Linked DNA regions of Homo sapiens: region 2 is linked to region 1. Evidence: promoter capture Hi-C in 16 types of primary human blood cells and fetal thymus (Javierre and others, 2016). All regions are on one chromosome and are shown on one strand. The core of a region is centred on a gene start or on the middle of the fragment in contact, and the rest is flanking DNA. Distances in the headings are between cores, read along the strand shown.

What was found. Contacts are between HindIII fragments. The CHiCAGO score rates a contact against its expected background, and 5 or more counts as called.
Region 2: a contact is called between a fragment that was not itself captured here and the fragment with the promoter of KBTBD8 in region 1, in 1 of 17 cell types (fetal thymus). The highest score is 8.0, in fetal thymus.

Annotation. Positions count from the first base shown.
Region 1 is chr3:66,996,789-66,999,719 of GRCh38, reverse strand. KBTBD8 (kelch repeat and BTB domain containing 8) reads right to left here and starts at 1,413. Exons shown (of 4, transcript NM_032505.3): 1 at 1,349-1,413; 2 at 529-739. The coding sequence starts at 1,364. RefSeq lists a silencer at 996-1,315 and an enhancer at 1,656-1,755. The HindIII fragment of the contact is 2,180 bases long and covers 1-1,449 here.
Region 2 is chr3:66,483,414-66,486,344 of GRCh38, reverse strand. The region is part of intron 1 of LRIG1 (leucine rich repeats and immunoglobulin like domains 1); the gene reads left to right. Among named protein-coding and RNA genes, the nearest start is that of LRIG1, 16 kb to the left of the region's middle. The HindIII fragment of the contact is 2,792 bases long and covers 144-2,931 here.

The DNA.
Region 1 (2,931 bases), core at 164-2,663:
TTATAAAAGAGTCCCATACACTAAAGAAACATGCATTATGGATAACTTTTTGAAAGAAATTCTAGATCAGCACTGTCCAATAAAATTGTCAATGATGAAAATGCTGTATTTCTGTGCTGCCCAATATGGCAGCCACTAGCTGCAGGTGACCAGCAAGCACTCAAAAAGTATTTAGTGTACCTGGGGAACTAAATGTTTTATTTTATTTAACTTATAATTTAAGTTTAAACAGCCACACATGGCTACTGGCTTCCATACTGACCAGCACAAGTCTAGATTTTCTGGTCATTTACCTCAAACACACACACACAGGCCCACTAACTTAAAAAGCAATCACCCGAAATCTAGAAGAATCCCTCAAGTCAAAAGAAGGTCTTAGTTAAGAGAGGACTTGTTTTCTAGTCTCAAGAAACAAAGTCATTGGTTTCATTTCATTATCGCATCTCAATATAAACATCAAGTGGACAATACTGAGGGGGAAAGGGAGCTTGGTGCAGATACCAACAGAAGTTCCTACCATCATCATACCTGAAGTAAGGGCTGATTGCAGCAAGAACGTTTCTATGACAGGAAAATGTTTTCCCGTGATCCACTTCCACTACAATGTCTGTCAACTGTCCTTCATCGTACATTGTTTTGAGTTGCTTAAGAATACTGCAAGCATGGAAGGGGTCCATGGCATCGCTGGCTGGGTCTGAAGATGGAATCCCATTCGGTGTTGGGGAAGACTTACTTAAATCTAGGAGGAGAAAAATCGTACAACTACAAGAAGTGCCGAGCCAGTTACGGCATCGCGGGATTTTTCTGTTTGTGTGTCTGCTTGCTAGGCTTTTTCCCCCTACAAGATATATACAAATGTCTGTGGATATACGCACGACCTCGTGGGACCGCGAGTTAAGGATCTGGGAGACAGAGGGCGGAGCGCGATCGGCGGAACAAGTTCAAAGGCCAGCCTGCTCCTGCGGAGCCCGGCGAGCCCGGCACCCGTGCTCGCGGAGGAAACGCGCTCGCAGCCCAGGAGAGGCGTCTGCGCGGACTCCGCCGAGAGCCGAGGGCAGAGCCTCACGAGGGAAGCTCGAACAACGGCGGCCGCCGGTGCCCCCTCAAGCCGCCTCCCGCTGCCTCCTGGGGCGCAGCGCCGGCGGGTACCCAGCCTCCCCATCCCGGTCCCGCCGGACCGCCCACCGCCCTCCGCACCATTCATCCTCCCTCTTCTCATTCCCCTCCACCGCTTCATCCTTCCCTCTAGCTCCGCACCGCTACGTCCTCATCCCACTGCCTGTGGCCGGCCCCGGCCCACCTTCCCCCTCACCTCCCTCCACGCCGCCCTGGCCACCACACGACCCACCTGCCGACGCGGCCATTTCTCGATGGGGCCCCGACTCCAGCTATTTAAAAAGGAAATGTCATTTCGCTTCTCTAGCTCCCGGGTTCCGGCTCTTCTAAGCTTCCCCTGGCCAATGGGGTGTCCTGTGCATCTGGCTCCACCCCTAGCCTCCGAATTCCTGGCGCTGATTGGCCACGACGCGAGCACATGCGTGTCGGGAAATGTAGTTTGATTGCCCCGGCTCCCGCGTGGTCCGGGTCGGGCGGAGGCCCAAGCCGGGAATTCCTATTGGCTGATTCGGATGGAGGTGGAGAGCAGGGAGCTGGCCAGCCTGTGGCCGTCGAGCGCGCAGTGCCTGCCGGGAGAGGTAGTCTTCTGGCGGAGGAGAACTGTCATTCTGAGGGGCTGGGGTAGGGAAAGCTCTTCAAGTGCGAATTTCCCCATTTTAGGCCTCTCTCCTGGCCCCCGGCACATTTTTTTACCTTTTTCTTCTTCCGTAAACTTCCTGCCAGTGACTAGCTTCCGGTATGAAATCAAGCTCTGCGTGAGAGCTGTAAAACCAGAAAAATGTGGAAATGGACAGGAGGGCTGTTGTCCAAAAATGCAAAGGAAATCTGACGTCCCACCCTGAAGAAAAATATCACAAGGCCCAAAAGCAAGGCGTCTCTGATGAGTCACCTATGACACCCAATTGAAATAGCATCGCCTTGGCCGGGTGCTCTGGTTTCCACAGATTAACTTGGTCTGGTTACAGCGGCTGCTTAGGATCTTCAACTCCCACTGGTGCCTTGCTTTTCTAGCACACCCAGAGAACACCTGTTCCTCACGTGAACATTACAAGGGGATCCAAGATGCTTTACTTTTTGCTCTTGGGAAATGGAGGGGATACAATACTAAGTATTCCGGAATTTCCTTTGAAAAAATACCGGAATGCCCTGAGCCCGGAGCCAGGGATGATTACTGAAGCCCTGGCTCTTTAGTCACTATATGTGAGAACTGACATAAGACCTTTCAACCCCTGAGCGCTTAGATCCTTCATCTGTAACGTGAAGTAATAGTAATCCGTACTCCATGGATTTCATAGGCTGCAACCTTTTGGAAAGAAAATCAAAATTTTACTGTTGACGAATTTTTATTTACTCATCTTGTGTTTCTAACATCTAACGGGGTGCCTGGCACATTATAGATGTTTCATATTTTAAAAATAAATGTAAGGTGCAAATGAGCTAACATTGGGAATGCTATTTCTAGATGTTAAAATGTAAGGAAGTATCAGCGAATGGGAAGAATTTCTAGTAGACATATAGTTAGCCCGTGTGCATAACTTTTCTAGCACTGAAAAGATCAAACCGTTGAACTTCTTGATAAAGAAAGGATCTTGGAATTTAAATTGTGATTGAGAAAGAGAAATAATTATGAAAAACAATTCAGTTCTGTCTTCTAGGTCTGCTGAGAAATTTAGAACTTAAAATACTATAATCCCATGCAAGTTAACAGGAAGTGGTGTTTCCTCATGACTGGGGTTTCTGCATATACATATGCACTTATAATTTCTTCTTTGTGAATGTCCTGTATGCACGTTTCTGGATAGATGAAATTGACTT
Region 2 (2,931 bases), core at 290-2,789, 510 kb after region 1:
CTGCCTGGGTGACCTTGGCAATTTACTCCACTTCAGTTTCCTTTTCTGTAAAATGGGGATAATTGTAGTGCCGACTTCCTTAAGCTTGTTATAAGGAAAAAAATGAAATATTTAACACAGGGCCTAACACACAAGCAGAAGCTTGAGGAAGGGTAGCTATAATGTTATTATTATAACTGTCGCAATAATAGTGTACCTTTCTGCAGCAGGATATATCTGTGTTAACTGATCATCACCATCTTAACTCTATGAAAAATATTGTCTCTGTTGTATACATGAGGCCCAGAGTAGTTGAATGACTTGTTTAGAGTCTAGCACTTGCCAGTTAGAATTCAGACCTGCGTGTACATGTTTAGAAGAAAATACGGTAAGACTAGCACTGCCTTCTTTCTGGCCTCCCTTTGACGTCTCTGAATTCCTGGAGGCCGATTGGTCTTTGGTGGCTTGAAGCACCTAGTGTAGTTCTGGCTGTACAGCTGGTGCTCTATACATGGTGTCTTGAATGTGATCTTGAAGAGCGTGTTTCTTTGTTGGTAGGCGTGTGTGTCAGATCCATTTTTGGTTTGCCTGTTTGGTAAAGGGGGTGGTAACATGCACATATGTTTTGCCATCTGTTGTTTATTGTTTCTGTTAGGTTGTGGTTTGTGTTCCTGTTCCATGTTCCTTTGGTTTCTGGAGCAACTGCGAATATTATATGCTTGGGGATCAAAAAAAGTAAACTATTTATAAACAGTAAAGTATCCTTGGGTTTGGAAAGTGTTTTTCTCAAATGCGTGTATATTTGTTGGCTTTATGATCATCTCACTGATGAATCGTTAGATAATTTGCAGACTGAGACACATCTAAAAGATGGGCGAGTCATGGTCCAGCCTTGTGTAACCAGCTCACAGACAGCCTTGGTGATAAGGCCCTGGTGTTAACGCTGACCCGAGTGGTGTATTTTTAACTCAAGAACATATAAACAGTTTAGCCTGCTGATGGAGTTTATGCACCGCCTGAAATCTTTGGCATGCCTTGGATTTGTGGCTCTGTAAGATGTACGTAGTCCTGGGAGAGTGCTGTGGCCGCCAGTGACCCACTGCCCCCACCCTTCATTCAAAAGAAAAGGAATGTAGCAGCAAGATGGAAGGAGAAAGGTGGAATTTATCAATAATTTTGTATGATAATTTTTCCTTTTTTTTTTTTTTTTGAGAGGGTCTTAATCTGTCACCCAGGTTGGAGTACAGTGGTGTGATCTTGACTCACTGCAACCTTTGCCTCACAGGTTCAAGCAATTTTCCCACCTCAGCCTCCTGAGCAGCTGAGGCTACAGGTGTGCACCACCATGCCTGGCTAATTTTTGTATTTTTTGGGGGTAGAGACAGGGTTTCATCATGTTGCCTAGGCTGGTCTCGAACACCTGGGCTCAAGCAATCGCTGGCCTCGGCCTCCCAAAATGCTGGGATTACAGGTGTGAGCCACCATGCCTAGCCTGTAGTATAAATTTTATCTTAAATTTTTTTTGTCATTACTATTTCACTTTGTTATGCAGACTTTAGAGGGAGGAGAGAGCTTTTTACTCACATCTGTTTGCAACCCCTTGCCCCCAGCTGTAGGGGTCTTTGCAGAGTTGCAAATTGGAGCACATGAATCCCATTGTTTAAAGCTGTTACTGTCCACCTGCCCCTCATCGCGCTTCTTACCTGGCCCCACCTGTCCCAGCCACCACGTGGGGCTTTTTAAAAAGACTTTTTAAATACCACCATGTCCCATGTCCCTCACCCACCATTTCCTCTGTCTGGAGAATGGGTCTTCCCTCTTCGCCTTGCAGATTTCTGTTCATCTGTCTTAAACGTTTCTCCCCATAGAAACCATGGCTGACGTTCCCTTTAAGTTAGATTCCCATCGTGAGGATTCTGCAGTGCTATGTATAGAAGTTTTGTGTGAATGTTTGATTCGTTTCTGACTACCCCATTAGTCTGTAAGCTCCCTGAATGCAGTGACTGGCTTTGTTTCCAATCCACCATTGTATTCCCAGAATCTAGTGTGAAGCCTGTGACACATTAAATGCTCGTGACAGATACCAGTGTAGATAGAGATAGTGGCATTCATTCTGTAGAGTCCTGTATGTCCTGTGGAAATACCTCTGCCAGATAGAATAATTCAGACCTCCCAGGCTTCATCTGTGTATTTCCTGAATATACCTTGCTTGTTTAGTAGCTTCCTATACCCCTCACCACCCTCCACCAAAGTCTCTTAAGTGTTGAGAAACTTAGAAGAATGGAAAGAAAGAAGAAACAAATAGAACCGAAGTTGAAAAGATGACAGGCTGTTTACCTGCCACATTTAGAATTGGCGGTCTTTTTGGTCTCTCTGAATTTTGGAAAAGTCCCATATGCAAGAATTGTCACTGAAGTGGCTTTGTAGTTAAAGCAGTGCATGTGAACTGTCCCCACATGAGGTCCTCGGGCGCCTCGTCCCTGCTGGATTGCTGGTGGCTGTCCTTGGCAGGTGGGCCAGGCTCAGGCGCTCTCCTCTGTGTTGCGTTTGGCGAGGGAGCCCGCGGTGCCCTTCCCAGCTGTTGACATGGTCTCTCATCTGCTCTTTTGCTGGAGCCGCGTTTTGGAGCCTGCTTTTCCAGAGTTGACACTGCAGGGGAGGGTGGCTTCTTCCATAGACCGAGGCTGTCTAGACACCCTTCCCCTTGTGGTTATTCTGCTCAGTTTATGCTGAGCCCTCGCCAGGCAGCTGGTTTCGGTTGCTTGAGCTCTTACTTTGCTCAGGCCTCTGCTTTGACAAAAAGGATGACCAGGCCAAGGTAGCTTTTCTCCCTCTTTGCTGCTGGCAGAGAGAAAGACTGCTTTCCTTGACCAGAGGGAGCTGTGAGAACACTAAGGACAGGTTACCCTGCCCTCTGTGGACCCAGCCCAAGTAACTATGTAAATTGATAGA